Regions from separate parts of the Homo sapiens genome. Here region 2 is linked to region 1. Evidence: promoter capture Hi-C in human tissues and cell types (Jung and others, 2019). All regions are on one chromosome and are shown on one strand. The core of a region is centred on a gene start or on the middle of the fragment in contact, and the rest is flanking DNA. Distances in the headings are between cores, read along the strand shown.

Evidence for each region. Contacts are between HindIII fragments. The study calls those that stand out against the background at their distance.
Region 2: a fragment that was not itself captured here is called in contact with the fragment with the promoter of FERMT2 in region 1 in 1 of the 25 tissues and cell types used here (ovary).

What each region holds. Positions count from the first base shown.
Region 1 is chr14:52,947,928-52,955,670 of GRCh38, forward strand. It overlaps FERMT2 (FERM domain containing kindlin 2), which reads right to left and starts at 3,123. Exons shown (of 15, transcript NM_006832.3): 1 at 2,994-3,123; 2 at 2,485-2,650. The coding sequence starts at 2,641. RefSeq lists a silencer at 2,892-3,101 and an enhancer at 3,822-4,400. The HindIII fragment of the contact is 21,614 bases long and covers 1-7,743 here.
Region 2 is chr14:52,663,623-52,671,365 of GRCh38, forward strand. ERO1A (endoplasmic reticulum oxidoreductase 1 alpha) reads right to left here. Exons shown (of 16, transcript NM_014584.3): 7 at 2,753-2,873; 8 at 179-225. Among named protein-coding and RNA genes, the nearest start is that of ERO1A, 28 kb to the right of the region's middle. RefSeq lists an enhancer at 1-587. The HindIII fragment of the contact is 3,237 bases long and covers 4,264-7,500 here.

The sequences.
Region 1 (7,743 bases), core at 1,873-4,372:
CCTTAAAATATAATGCTTTTGGTATTCATATACCGTCCAACAGATTAAGAAGGATATCAGACAGTCTGGAGTTTGAAAATGTAAGTGAATGCTCTGGTGTCTTCTGTTCATAACTGCTTCAAGGCCACAGTAGCCCAAGTCTGCTAATTTTCCATCACTGCTCTGCAAACCTGAGACAACAGACTTTGTACCATCTCATCCCTACCACCATCTCCACCTTTTATCTAGACTCTGCAAGCTGCTTTGATCCTCTCTAGCCACTGTTGGCAAGTAGTCATCCAGTCTGCCCTTTAATACCTTCAGTGACATAAGTCAGGGCTTCAGAAGGCAGGTCATTCCAGTTTTACGCAACTCTGAAAAATTACAAAGTTCTTTTCTAATTTGACTAGCCTGATTTGTGGATGTTTTAAATGCTGCCCTACCGAATCTCTCCTCTATTTACTTGCTGATAGGCAACGAAATAGCTTACCATTCAAAGCATCTAATCCTAAAAACCAAAAGCATCACTTAGCTCTACTTTTACCAAACAGGAAAGTCAGAGGCACTTTCTATTTGGAATTCAAAATATAAGAGGAATCAGTATGAATTCAGTTCAGAAAAGATGTAAGGTTTCCATACGCACAGCATTTCCTACCTTGTTGGGCTTCTTTTCTCTGCATAAAAAATTAAAAATGTATCAGCATTAAAAGATTAAGATTATAGTCATTTAAATTAACATCATTTCTGTCTGCAGTTTATTCTCTATATTTCTATTTATTACTGTGATTCTATAATAAACAGTCCTAAGCAATGCAAAATAAATATAGAAACCATTATTTATTCATTAGCTACAGCCTGGCTTTCGAGAACTACAAGTTGTCTCAGTCACCTTCAACAGCTCCTTTTTTTGCAATATAAAAAATATCTCCTATTGAGACCAATGTATTAATATGGTCCATTTACCATAAATTAGAAAAGCTCTAACAAAAATGCTTGTTTTCTTTGAAAACAAAATATCCAAATATTTGCTATTTTCCTTCTTAAATAATCTCATACCAGAGCTGGACAAAAAAGGTTCATACATATTTTGCAAACAGTGACTGATTTATTCAAATCAGATAAAAATACTGTTAACTGCCAGTTAAATGGTTAATCAATACAGCAAAATCTAATTTTCACTGGGCTACCTAGGAGGATTTTCTTTCCTGAGCTGTATCTCAGGGAGCCAAACAATGCAGTCTTAAGGAAGAGGCTACCTTGTAAGGAGCTTCACTTTGGTCCTTCAATAATAAAACTTCCTGCAGGGGTACAAAGCAGGTCCACCCAAATGAATCCTGCCTTATTTTGCAAAATGCATCAGAGTGCTATTTCAGTACCTTTACATACAATAATCCTTTGGTAAGAAATAGATTTCCTGACAAATAAGCACTTCTCTACTTTCCCAGTGTAGCTTGAAAACGAATGCTGTGTTTAAAAAAAAAAAGAAAAAAAAAAAGACGAAAAAAACCCCCAGAAAGTCCCCAACCCCCCTTCACCAAAACAAAAAACAATTCCAGCCTAAAAAGACAATGCCACACAGATAATCATCTTATCACAACTGTATTATGTACAAAAGGCTCTTTAAAGCTCAGGAAGATAGTTCTCTGAGCATTTCTCTTATGATCAAATCATCTATTTAGCTGACTCTTCCAGATGAAAATGGTTTCATTCATCACAAAAATGTGTACTGCACACTCTTCACACACTTCATACTGTAAGATACCTTATTATTTTAAATCGGATATCAATCCAATACATATTTGTACTCAAGCAAACACCGTCAACCTCAAATTAGTTTAACAAAGTCTGCTTTTTAACACAAAGTTCTTTCCTTGGCTTGTTATTAATATAAAACCGAACGCTCGAAACGGCTTACATCGAGCATGGACTATGGATACCAAGTTTGTCAAGCACTGCCCCACCCCTAGTAAGAGTGGATGACTGGAACATTTTAATGCACTCCACCACGTAGAACAGCCACAGAAACTTCACACTGGCGCCAGTAGTTGCACATTTTCCAGCACAGATTTTTCTTAAATGGATTTTGCATCATTCTCTATACCAAACGTCACTAACATTCAGGTATGCTGAAGACATAGATAACCACGGACACTGTAATATCACCCTCCCAACACACTTTCCTCATTCTTTTATCGTTCTGTCAGTAAATGTTAAGAATTAACGAGTTCCCCGGCACACATCCCCCGTCCCGCGTAACTACGCAATTAAGGTTATAATTGGGAGGCTCGAATCATTACATATGAAAATTCAGAGAATAGCAAAACAAAATAAGACGCAAAGGGGAACAGGTCTATCTGCTTAAATACTGAAAGATTTTACATCTCCAAAAAGCATTTGCGAGATGCCAAGATTTCTCAAATGGGCCCCTCCCCCGTCGTGAGCCTCTTTCCTCCCCCTACCAATTCTGGGAAGTCATTAGTTGGACGCGGCTGGGATGCTACTCACCGAGTTTCTCCACCAGCTTAAGCATCACGCCTCCAATGTGCACCTCGCCGGTCACTCTCAGGGTGACATCGCGGTTCAGGTCCGTCACATGGACACTCAGTTCCCACGTCCCGTCCGCGTAGCAGCCATCTGGCATCCTTATCCCGTCCAGAGCCATGGCTCCTTCCTGCGAGCGCGGAGGAAATGGCTCTCGTAAGCGTCACTCCCCCAAAGAAAGGCGAATCCCACCGAATTCGCAGCGCCGGCCACGGGCTGGGAGGTGGTGGAGGACCCGGGGCTTTCGGCAGAAACTCGGGAGGGCGGCGGCGGCCGGGGCTGCGGGAGGACCCTACGCCCCGCTCGCCCCGCAGCGTTCCTCGGTCCCGGCGCCGCCCGCCCCACACCGTCCCCGCCTAGCGGACCGCGGAGGGCTTCACCTGCCGGCCGGCCCCGAGACACAGCGCGGGCTGACTCCCCGTTCCCCTCCCCGCCGCGCCCCCTCGGGTCCCGGCGGGGTCCCGCTCCCTCACCGCGCGCTCCTAGCGCTCCGGGCCCGGGACTCGCGCGGCAACAGGCGAGGGGCTGGAGGCTCGCGGGGCGGCGGTGTCCGCGTCCGGTTCCTCGGCTGGCGAAGCGCTGCCTGTGGCCGGAGCGGCTAATGGAGTCCCGTCGTCGCGGCCCCTCGCCTGGCTCCCCGCGCTCCACCCTCTCCCCGCCCCCTCTGTCCGAGCCTGGCTGGGCTGGGCGCGCTGGCTCCCTCCTTCGCCGCCCGCAGAGCTGCCCTGAGCGGGTCCGGCCGGCCTCGCCTCTGCCCCCGCCCTCCCGGCGCCGCGCTCGGGGGAGGGGGCTGCGGGTCCCGGGCGGGGCGGGGCGGCGTGGGGCGGGGCGGCGCGGGGGTGGCGGGGGGCGCGGCGGGGCGGCAATCTCGGCCCCGCGGAGCGCTGCCCTTTTATGGAAATGAAGGACCCGGCTCAGGAATTGAATCCAACATCCGGGCTCTAGGCGGCGGGCCCTGAGGAGGGGGAGCGGGGGAGCGCGGGCGGCCTTTCCCGGGGCGCTGGTGGCCGGCGGGGCGTCTAGAGCTCAGGCTGGACTGGGGCCCCCGCGGCGTGTGTCCGCGCTGGCAGCAGGGAGAGGGGGCTTGTCCGTGAGAAACGGCCCCAGGAAATTCCCAGGGCAAGGTCGTTTTCGGAGAACAAAGTCCTCTCGCCCCCTCCCCACGCCTGCAGCGAGACAAAAAGCCTCAGGGAGGTGAGAGGTGCCGCACCCCGGGAGCTGGAGAGAGGAGTCTGGGACGGAGAAACTTTAAAAAGTAAATGCCCAAACCAACTCCTTGAATGTCCTACAAAAGAATAAGAAAACCCCGAGGGAGGTGAACCACAAAAATTGCTTTGCAAGCAATGTCCGGCACCATCAGCAACTCCTACTGGACTCCCAGGAGTTTGCAAGCGTTCTTAACCCCTTCGGACGCTCCAGCCAGATGCCAGTCAAACAGATGATGCTCTTGCCTGAGGGGAAAGGAAAGACACAACCTAGTGCCACAGGTTTTACTCAGAAACTGTTTCCCCAGCTTCTCCAGCTCTTTGTACTTATTTGTGTGTTTTTATATGCAAGTTAGAACTAACAGTCTATTAAAGCTGTTAGATGGAGATACATGTTCCATCCCACCCTCAGCCACACCTTGGATTTTAATACTTCTGGAACGGTGCCTGCAGGTACCAGGAAGAGCTAAACAACTTCACCTGTTGAAGACTGGCTAGTGATGGGGAACGGTCCTCCTGCTTCCCGCTTTTGTTTCCACTTCCCCCATTAACTGTTGTACTCTGTTGAGGGAACTCCTTTCAGAAACAGCAAACCAGAGAAACTGCCTCGCTAGCAAATTCATGGGCTCAGAAAATAAACGTCAAGAAGGCTCAGATTAAAATACCTTTTAAAGATAAAAGACTCCAGTTCGCAGTCTCATAATCTTGTCGAATTGTCTCAAACGCTTGGAAAAGGAACTCGCTAGGCAGATAACCTTTTGTTCATTAACATTACTGGGAAACAAGATGAGAGGCCTCAAGAAAGGGGTGGAACTCAGAAAGGAGTGAAAGCAGCAAAATTTAGTCAGATGCCAAAGGCTTGGCAGAAAAAAAAATAGGGAAAACCACTACAGTGTTTTTAGCTAGTTATCATGGAGAAATTGATGCCTTCAGTCTCTTATCTGTCTACTCTCCAATATTTCTACTCGTGGACGTTCCAAATAGTTCACTTGAAAGCAATATGAATGTCCGGAGATGAGGGAGTTTATGTAAATTATGGGGTTGAAAATATACAGGAAAATGTTTTTAATAAATTAAGGAATTGCTTGTTAGGGCACAAAACTGCAGAACTGGATATGCAGCTATAAAATTAAGAGCTTATTTACGTTAAATGTTCAGAGAAAAAGACTGTAAGGAAATACAGCAAAATGTTAAGAAGCTCTCTGGGTCTTGAGATCACGGAAGTTTTTTCTTTCTTTTATTCTTTATTTTCTGCCAACTCAAAAACTTTACACCACCACCTAGAATTGCATCCAGCATTTCAGTTTCTCTGTACATGCCATGACATTCACGATGATAGACACTGGATACAGCAGCTACTGACTGAACGATGGACAGGATTTTCAGAGGTTTCCTTTGGTGTTTTTTAAATAGTTCTAAAGAAAACTTGAGTTCTTTAAGAGCAGAGATTTCAAATTATTTTCATTGTCCACAAATTCACAATAGCTTGGTACAGAGAAAATGGAAAACATGCTGGTGTCAAACCAACACAAATGTCAAAGAAACAGTGGGTCTGTTCCATGGAGAAATCTCAGGGGCCAGGTACAGTGGCTCATGCCTATAATCCCAGCACTTTGGGAGGCTGAGGCAGGAGGATCACTTGAGCCCAGGAGGTGGAGGCTGCAGTGAGCTGTATTCACACCACTGCCCTCCAGCCTGGATTGATCGCAGAAAAACAAAAAACAAATCTCAATGGGAAAATCCCCACTTTAAAAATATACTTATTTATTTCCCCCACTTTATCCCCCAAAAGATTTATGGCAACGTATAAGGATGCATAAACTGTGAGATAGTATACATTATAAGTGGCACAAAACAAGAAAAAAAAGGTGGGTGGGGATTGGGAGGCTTAGAGGGGTGGAGTAGAGATTTATTTATTTATTTTGGAGTAGAGATTTAAAATGGAGCTGGGAATGAAGCTAAGAATTGTATCTTATGACATTTGCACATGCTCCAGTAAGCTACAAAAAAATTATGGCTTTCTAAACATGCCTTTCTAGAACCTAAAATATCTATGCCCTTTCTGAATATTCCCTTTCCTTCAGACAAAATTGTTGAAGCCAACTGTCATGGTTTAGAAACTCTTTTAATACAGATGGTCCCTGACTTATGATTTTTTGTTTATGACGGTGTGAAAGCGATAGGCATTCAGTAGAAACCGTACTTTGAATACCCCTAGGACCTTTCTGTTTTTCACATTCAGTACAGTATTCAATAAATTACATGAGATAGTCAACACTTTACTATAACATGGGCTTCATATTGGATCATTTTGCCCAACTGGAGGCTAATGTAAATGTTCTGGATACATTTAAGATAGGCTAGGTTAAGCTGTGATGTTCGTCGGTAGGTTAGGTATATGAAATGCATGTTTGACTTACAATATTTTCAATTTACAGAATGTAACCTCATCATAAGTTGCAGAGCATCTGTACTCGGTTTCCAAATTCTAGTTATTTTCCCACTTTCCAGTAAGAGTTACTTTCTGAACACCCCCACGACAGCACCGACTGCTCTAACTACCGTGCTTTCCTGAATCCACTTCTACGAATGTTCTCTACATTTAGTGACAGAGAGTGGGGGTGGGGAATTTTAATATTGTGAATAACTGCCCTATTTCTTAACATTTGAAATCGCTTGAGTATAGCTTCATAAGACACTTTACTGGCTTTAGAAAGTCAGCAGTATATATTTGAGCAATTAATGCACAGGAAGGCAAGGACCTTCAGTTAAGTACCAGTGGAAGAATAATTAGATTAGGTTGGGTGCAGCTGATCCCTTCAGGCCTTCTTTTTGACTATTTCAAGCTGTCACTTGCTTTGAAGATTAAAGAGGAGTCAGCCTCACCTCTCTGAAACTGGGATTTTTTTTTTCCAGTTTATCAAGTGACGCTTTCAAGTGCATTTCTTAAATATTCACTTCTACCTAAGATTTAGAATGTATTCAAATGTAGACTCTTATCTGAAATCCCCTGCTAGAACCACTAGGACAATGCAATGCTTGTGGTACTTACATCATACTGAAAAGTAGCTGAGTACGCCAGTGTTTGGAAGAACAGCTCAAGCAATGAAAGCAGCAATATCCAAATAAGGTACCAAGCACTGGACTTAGATTTAGACCAAGCAGTGCCTCACAGATCTGCCGTCAAATGCAGCCCTCGGGCTTGGTAATGCTCAGGTTGACTTTAGCTTTTTTTCTGTGCCTACTTGCACTGTGCTTTATATTTCTAGAAGGTCAATTCAAAATATAACCCCTGGGTTTGAAAGAAGGAGAGAGGATGGGGGTAGGAGAAAATAAGAGAGGATTTGTGTGGGTGTGAAATGTGTAAGGGGGGACTTGAAAATGCGACATGAGGCCAGCAAGATGAAATGTAATGAATTATTCTTGTCAAATACCAGGTGGGTAGAATTCTTTCTTTGTCTTGGGGATTGCCAAAAATGGCACACACCAATAACGCTACTAAAGAGGTAGAAATCCAGGGGTGTGGAATGTGATCTAAATGGGAAGGGAGGTTGCAAAAGCCACTTTTTTGACAGAAATGGGCAGTCACTGTAATTAGCAAGAAAAGGACTGGCAAACTGAGAAACAAGATTTGCTAGGAATATGGCTGTTTTCACAGACCAAAGAAGGGCTCCGAGATAACAGTGAAATCTTTAAGGGGAAAGAAATGCACTGCTTACATTTACTGCTTTAGTTACAGAAAGTTTTATGTAGGAAACCATGCTCGGGATACCTTTTCCCCCACCTCCCCCCACCGACTTAAGTTTGAACACCAGGACATCTTGTGAAATATTCTTCACCTCAACAAAAATATCAAATGTTCACACGTACAAACACAGTAACTATGTGTCTAGCACAGTGTAGGACATTGAGACAGGCATGTAAATGTATAACACATGTCACAAATTCTTAAGGAACATCTATCTGATACAGGAGGCTTATATTTAAAACATCAGAAAGGACAGCCACGTACAACATA
Region 2 (7,743 bases), core at 4,632-7,131, 280 kb before region 1:
TACTGAAGTACAAATAATTTAAGCACCAATCTCTGCAAGCGTGAGGCATAACTCTATGGAAACAGGACTGTGGATTATATGACTTCAACTGTTACTGTCATTTATCTTGCCTTCCCCTTCCTTTGAATTAAAGTTCCCTGGCTGAGAAATAATATAACAACGCAAATAAGTAATTTACCTTGACCAGAAGCCAAAGGATTTAAAGGTCTTTTAATTGTCTGTGGCCTAGAAGTAAAAAGAATTAAAAATATCAACACAAATATGTTACCAATCATGTTATATTTAAGTGATATTATCTCAGAAAACTGCTTAATATCCAAAATCAAATTGTTTTATTGAGATTATAAAACACTTAGTTTCCTCTAATTGCTTTAAGGGAGGGTGGCTATTTGTTGTAGTGATAATAGTTCCTGATCTTCTCCCATTGTGGCGGCCAGCAGGCCATTTCCTAATCACTTCTTCAAACAAAAGAAGAGAAAATATCAGCCAAGCTCTTCTCTCGGAGTCACTACTATGTTTTTATATATATTATATATACATATCTATGTATATGTGTGTGTGTATGGCACAAAGTGTACCCCTAAATGAAAGACAAATAAGCAAAAAATATTCAATATAAGCATTAAAATTTAAAAATGGAAAAAAAATAGTGTAGATTATTTTCCACTTAGGTAATCTTTAGACACATCAATTTGCCCTGTAGCTAAGTTTGTTACAATTTAAATAAAAGTTGTTTGTTCAGTAGGAAAAAACAGAAATTTTCTGGAGAGTTACTATGTCATTAAAGTGCTTTTAAATCCCAAAATAAATACGCGTTAGTATTAATAGTAAACTATAGGGATTGTTTTAACATCTATTTTAAAAATTTGCAAAACTGGAGACATTTTGAGAACAGAATATGTAAGCTGTATTTTAAAATACACAATATAATTAACTTAGCCCTTTATACATTGTTTATATTGTTAGAAATTATGGGAATCAGGACACAAATTAGTAAGAAAATGACTACAAAAGTAATACAAATCTAACAAATGCTTCATGGATTCTTTTATTATTTTTCTTTGAGACAGAGTCATTCTTTTTTTTTGAGACGGAGTCTCACTCTGTCACCCAGGCTGGAGTGCAGTGGTGCAATCTGGGCTCACTGCAAGCTCCGCCTCCCGGGTTCACGCCATTCTCCTGCCTCAGCCTCTCGAGTAGCTGGGACTACAGGTGCCCACCACTACGCCCGGCTAATTTTTTGTATTTTTAGTAGAGACGGGGTTTCACCGCGTTAGTGAGGATGGTCTCGATCTCCTGACCTCGTGATCCGCCCGCCTTGGCCTCCCATTCTTAATTCACACTAAAAATAACAACAACAGGGCCGGGCGTGGTGGCTCATGCCTGTAATCCCAGCACTTTGGGCATGGTGGCTCACCCCTGTAATCCCAGCACTTTGGGAGGCCGAGGTGGGTGGATCACCTGAGGTCAGGAGTTCAAGAACAGCCTGGACAACATGGTGAAACCCCGTCTCCACTAAAAATACAAAAATGAGCCGGGTGTGGTGGCGTGTGCCTGTAGTCCCAGCTACTCAGGAGGCTGAGGCAGGAGAATCGCTTGAACCTGGGAGGCAGAGGTTGCGGTAAGCAGAGATGACGTCACTGCAGCCTGGGCAACAGAGTGAGACTTCATCTCAAAAAAAAAAAAAAAAAACCTTTAAAGTAAATCTTTAAGTCAGTAAATCAAACATTTCTAATAATAGTCAAGATAATTTAAATAAAATACATGGCAGAAATAAGTAATTAATAAAAACTCTCTACTTTCCAAACTGGAGAAATTCTTCAAGTCAAAAAAAAAAACACCACAGTCTGACATTTTATTGGTGTAAGCACAATTACTGATCTCATACTTATATTTGACTTATAAAAAGTGAAATATATAATATTATCCCCATATTTGGGAACTCCAAAGACTTTCCCAGAACTCTCTCCATCTCTAAGACAGCATAATGTGCTCGCACATACATTGATCCCAAAACCAGTGAGTACAAAGTTTAGCACCTCAAGACTTACGTGTGAGTAACCTGAAGCATTTCTCAGATACCCAGTGATCAGCAACTGCCTCCAGCCTAATGGTTACCCCGTACAAAGCGGGCTCTTTCACTTACTAGATCTTTGACACTGAACAAATCATTTAACCTCTCTAAGTCTCAGTTTCTCTGTCTATAATACAGTGATGACTGCAACACAGGGTTATTGCAAGGACTGAAGAAGAAAATGTATATAACATGCTTACCACAATGCCTAGAATACAGTGAGTGCTCAAAAATGATACCTATTATAATTGTTCTCTGAAATCAATTTAACTGTAAAATAATTAAAGCCACAGACAAGGGTGTACAGAGCACCAAAAAGAGAATTAAGAGTTGTATATTCTTTTCTCTACACTGCCACTGTGTGATCTTGGGAAATGAAGCAAACCTCTCCAGCTCTAGGTTACCTTAACTATAAAATGAGATCCTATAATCGACTCAAGGAACATTTGTCAAGGGCCTACAATACTCCCATAAAGGTCTAAAGGAAAAATCTGTGGAAACTCACGTCTATATATTTCCCCAGAAGGAAACTGGATTAATGAATAGTCATGTTTCCTTGTACAAACACATCTTTTAACAAAGTGAATTTGATTTTTAATTTTAAATCATTATGATTTTGTTTATAAAGAGAAATCACCACATCTTATAGGAATTTTTCTAAATGAAAATGACACATACTTAAAACAGTTTTCTTCGTAGATGACATTCCATATTTTCCAAGCATCTGGTCCCTTGTAACCAGTGTAGCGCTCAGGATTAAGAAGCAAATCTACATATTCAGCTTCAGGGGACTGAATGTCTGTAAAATAAAATGTCTTATTAAACCTTTCTTATCCTCAGTTACCTTAAAAAGCTACTACACAAGACTGTATTCCATTGATTCTAACGCACCACAAATATAACAATGTGTCAGGAATTTTAAAACAACTTTTCAGGAGAAACAAAGGAAGGAGGCCGGGTGTGGTGCCTCACACCTGTAATCCCAGCACTTTGGGAGGCCAAGGTGGGCGGATCACTTGAGGTCAGGAGTTCGAATCCAGCCTGGCCAACATAGTGAAACCCTGTCTCTACTAAAAATACAAAAATTAGCCGGGCGTGGTGGTGCACGCCTGTAGTCCCAGCTACTCGAGAGGCTGCAACAGGAGAATCACTTGAACCCGGGAGGCGGAGGTTGCAGTGAGCCGAGATTGCGCCACTGTGCTCCAGCTTGGGTGACAGAGCGAGACTCCGTCTCAGAAAAGAAAGGAAGGAAAAGAGAGAGAAACACACACAGCCACATTAATTGTACACACTGGCTACAAAAACATTATGATTTAGGAATTGTAAAAATAGGAATACGTGAATTTTAGAATCAAAGAAACATGGTAATTCAATTATCATAAGCTATTCAGACAAAGAATATAACATACATTTCCCTCCACATTAACCACAGCAGTTCATCAATAACTACAGTAAATGAAGGAGTGTTAGTATTGTACACTGCGTGTTACCAAATACTTTCTTCTTAGATGACCACCAGCAGATCCAATCTGGCCAAAAGCAAAAGTTACAATGCAGCATGATTCTGTGTCAACATTATTTATAAAAGGGAAAATTGGAAGCAACCTAAACATCCAACATCACAGAACAGCCAGAGCATGGGCTCTGGAGCCAGAACACCCAGGCTAGAATCCAGACCCTGTTACTTATTTATCATTTATAATGTGTTATAACTTCAAAACAAAAAAGATGGTCGGTCCCAGGGTGGGCACGATGGTTCATGCCTGTAATCCCAGCATTCTCGGAGGCCTGGGGGCAGACTGCTTGAGCCCAGGAGTGATTCTAAAATTCACAGGCAACCTGGTGAAACACCAGGCATCAATAAAAAATACAAAAATTAGCCAGGCATCATGGCACGTGCCTGTGGTCCCAGCTACCCAGGAGGCTGAGGTGGGAAAGTCACTTGAGCCCAGGAGGTCCAGGCTGCAGTGAGCCGTGATTGCACCACGGCACTCCAGCCTGGGCAACACAGTGAGACTGTGTCTCAAAAAAAGATGGGCCATAGTCCTCCAGTGGCTTTGGGAAATTATTTGGTACTATAATAATACTTTATTCATATATAAAGCTTAACAGTATGAGCCAACAAAGAATTAAAAAGTGGACAAAAACGGTCTCAATGCAACCAAAGTCAATAACAAAAATATGAGCACAAAAGTGCTTAGAGTCCATCAAGCTCTCAACTATACCTATTTTTATTATTAAAAAAAAACCACAAAAACAAAAAAAAACCCTAAGCTTGGTTATTTTTTACTCCAATTCACAGTATATTAGAAGCATAAATTAGGGGGAAATTTGCTTCTAGAAGCAGTACAATGACGGCATCTTAAAATAGCAGAGTTCAATGCAGAAGTGGCAATTAAAATAACTAGAAAAACAAAATATAAGGACTTAAAAAACAAATTAGCATGGAATCATCTAGTTCAGGAATGGATAACTGTTCATTTCAATTAATACTAAAGGCAAGTGCCACATATAAATTATAATAAATTCATTTTTTAAACCCTGATGTTTAAAATATATAAACAGCAGGCCAGGCATGGTGGCTCACGCCTGTAATCCCAGAACTTTGGGAGGCTGAGGCGGGTGGATCACATGAAGTCAGGAGTTCGAGACCAGCCTGACCAACATGGAGAAACCCCATCTCTACTAAAAATACAAAATTAGCCGGGCATGGTGATGCATGCCTGTAATCCCAGCTACTCGGGAGGCTGAGGCAGGAGAATCGCTTGAACCCGGGAGACAGAGGTTACAGTGAGCTGAGATCACACCATTGCACTCCAGCCTGGGCAACGAGAATGAAACTCTGCCTCGGAAAAAAAATAAAAATAAAAATGAAATAAAATAAAATACATAAACAACGGTCAGTATCCAGGACTTTGAGAAAACTAACCACCAAGAAATGATTAAATTTTTAAATATTCTACCTAGAGATAAACATTTGTTGCCTCATAATTCTACTTATTATAAATACTTCATTCTTCTTCAAGCTTATAAAAAATAAATATTACTATATTATTATATTACAAATCTTATAATTATACTATAATTATAATTATAATTATACAATTATATTTGAAGTAATACTATAATTATATTAAATATTACTATAATTATATTTGTGCCAAGAATTTTTATGATGCGCTGGTTCCTATCACTGAATAGAACCTGAAGTTTTTCATAGAAAACTAGTCAAACATGTTTTGTAAAATCTAAGAAAAGACATTTAAGAGCCCATTTGGCCCTTATAGGAAAATGCCAATATCCAGCCCTAGAAGCAGAAAACATGCGTTCTGCAAAACCTATATGATATGCTGTTTTCTATCACTGAATAGAACCTGTTTTTGACAAAAGCTCAAATTTCCAATTAGGATTTTAAAAATACTTTCTATATTTCACGTACCATTTACATCCATTATTTATTCCTGCTAAAGCTTTCTTTAAAATATTCAGCTTTTTTTAACAGAAGACACTAATACAAATGGGCAAGTGATTCACCAAACTCTACCATATAAGAAATGAATCATTGATTCTCACCTGGTGCTGCACATTGTAGTCACAAAAGGATGTTAATTAAGGTTAAAATATTACCATCCTTTTTCTAACAGTGGAGGACTAAAAAAAATTATAGCTGCATACTATAAATTTAGTTTTATCTCACAACAATATTTAAGGTAAAAAAAAAATCCTTGTAGAAAAGATGGCAAAATAAGGGAGTTGGGAGAACATCTTATCCCCTTCCTTCACTAGTCCAAATCTTGATATAGGTCTATACCCCTCATCCAACATGCCTGGGACCATGCGTGTCTCGGCTGGAATGAACTTTCCAGATTTTACAAAGGTAATACAGTACATGCAACATATATCGCATATTACTCCAGCTGGACCTGGGGGAGCAATCTTTATTCAAACACGTAAATATTTCTACAGTGAAACATATACTCACACTAAATGAGCCTCTGCTAAACGCAGGGGGAGAAATGTTCAGTTTTCAGAGTTTCCAGATTTTAGAATTGGAAATAAGGAATTATAACTAAGTATATACCAAAACATGGCTACGGTTTCCATTAAGGAAAGCAATTTTCCCCAAAAAGAAGCCACAAAATTAAAAATACTTTCTCTTTTATGGAGATTGTAGGCTGCATCTTTGGCTTATAATTAAAAGAATTTATATCACTGTTTTCACTAATTTTTTGTTGTGTTGTTTTGAGAAAGGGTCTCACTCTGTCCTAGGCTTGGAGTACAGTGGTGCAATCAGAGCTCACTCCAGCCTCAACCCCCTGGATCAAGCAATCCTCCCACTCCCCGAGTAGCTGGGACTACTGGCACACACCACCAGGCCTGGCTAATTTTTGTATTGTTTGTAGAGACAGAGTTTTGCCATGTTGCCCAGGCTAGGCTCAGCAATCTTCCCTCCTTGGCCTCCCAAAGTGCTGGGATTATAGGCATAAGCCAACAAGCCAGGCCCGTTTTCACTAATTTTTGAAAGAGCGTTAGTCCACTAGAAAAGAGCCACAGAAGAATACCAAGACTCAATTTGATTTATTTTTTTTAGTGAATTAAGAGGCTAACAATTCAACTTAGAAAAAGGAAATACTAGAAAAAGGAAGAATTGGAAAATCTATACATCTTGATCAGAGTTGTTTTTTTGGTCTTTTGTTTTTTTGAGACGGAGTCTCGCTCTGTCACCAGGTTGGAGTGCAATGGCACAATCTCAGCTCACTGCAACCTCTGCCTCCTGGGTTCAAGTGATTCTCCTGCCTCAGCCTCCTGAGTAGCTGGGATTACAGGCATGAACCACTGTGCCACGATCAGAGTTTTAATGAATCTGGGGCTCCTAGCTTTTAACAGCAGCAGCACTCTGGCTTAACTTCAGACATCACAGACTCGACTAACGGTTCAATATTCACTTCTCCAAAAGCAACACGGACCATCATTAAGGAATATACATAACAATCCAACAGCAATGTAACTGAAGCAGATTTTTGTAATCCCTAAATTTTAGCTATTTATACAAAATGTATATACAAAATTATATAAACCACAAGCTACATAGAACTGCAAAACTTAAGAGGTACATTTTTTCTAGAAACTGAGTTTTTTTAACTGTAATAAAATTGATATAATAAAATTTACAGTTTAACCACATTTAAGTATACAATTCAGTGGGATTCATTATATTCACAGTGTTGTGAAACCATCACCACTATCTGTTGCCAGAACTTTTCCAGCACCTCAAACAGAAACTCTGTAACCTTTTAGCAATAACGCCTACCCACCCCAACCTCTGATAATCTTTAATCTACTTTCTGTCTCCATGAATTTGCCCATTGTTTACATTTCATATAAGTGAAATCATTTATACTTGTCCTTTGGTGCCTGACCTATTTCACTTAGCATGTTGTCAAGATCCATCCGTGTTGTAGTATGTACCAGAACTTCATTCCTTTTTCTGGCTGAATAGTATTCCATTGTGTGTTTTATATACCACATTTTGTTTATCCATTCAAACAGTACTGGACAATTGGGTTGTTACCACCTTTTGGCTATAATGAACATTGCTTTGCCATCTGTTTGAGTCCCTGTCTTTAATTTTTTTGAGTATATACCTAGAAAAGGAACTGTTATGTCAT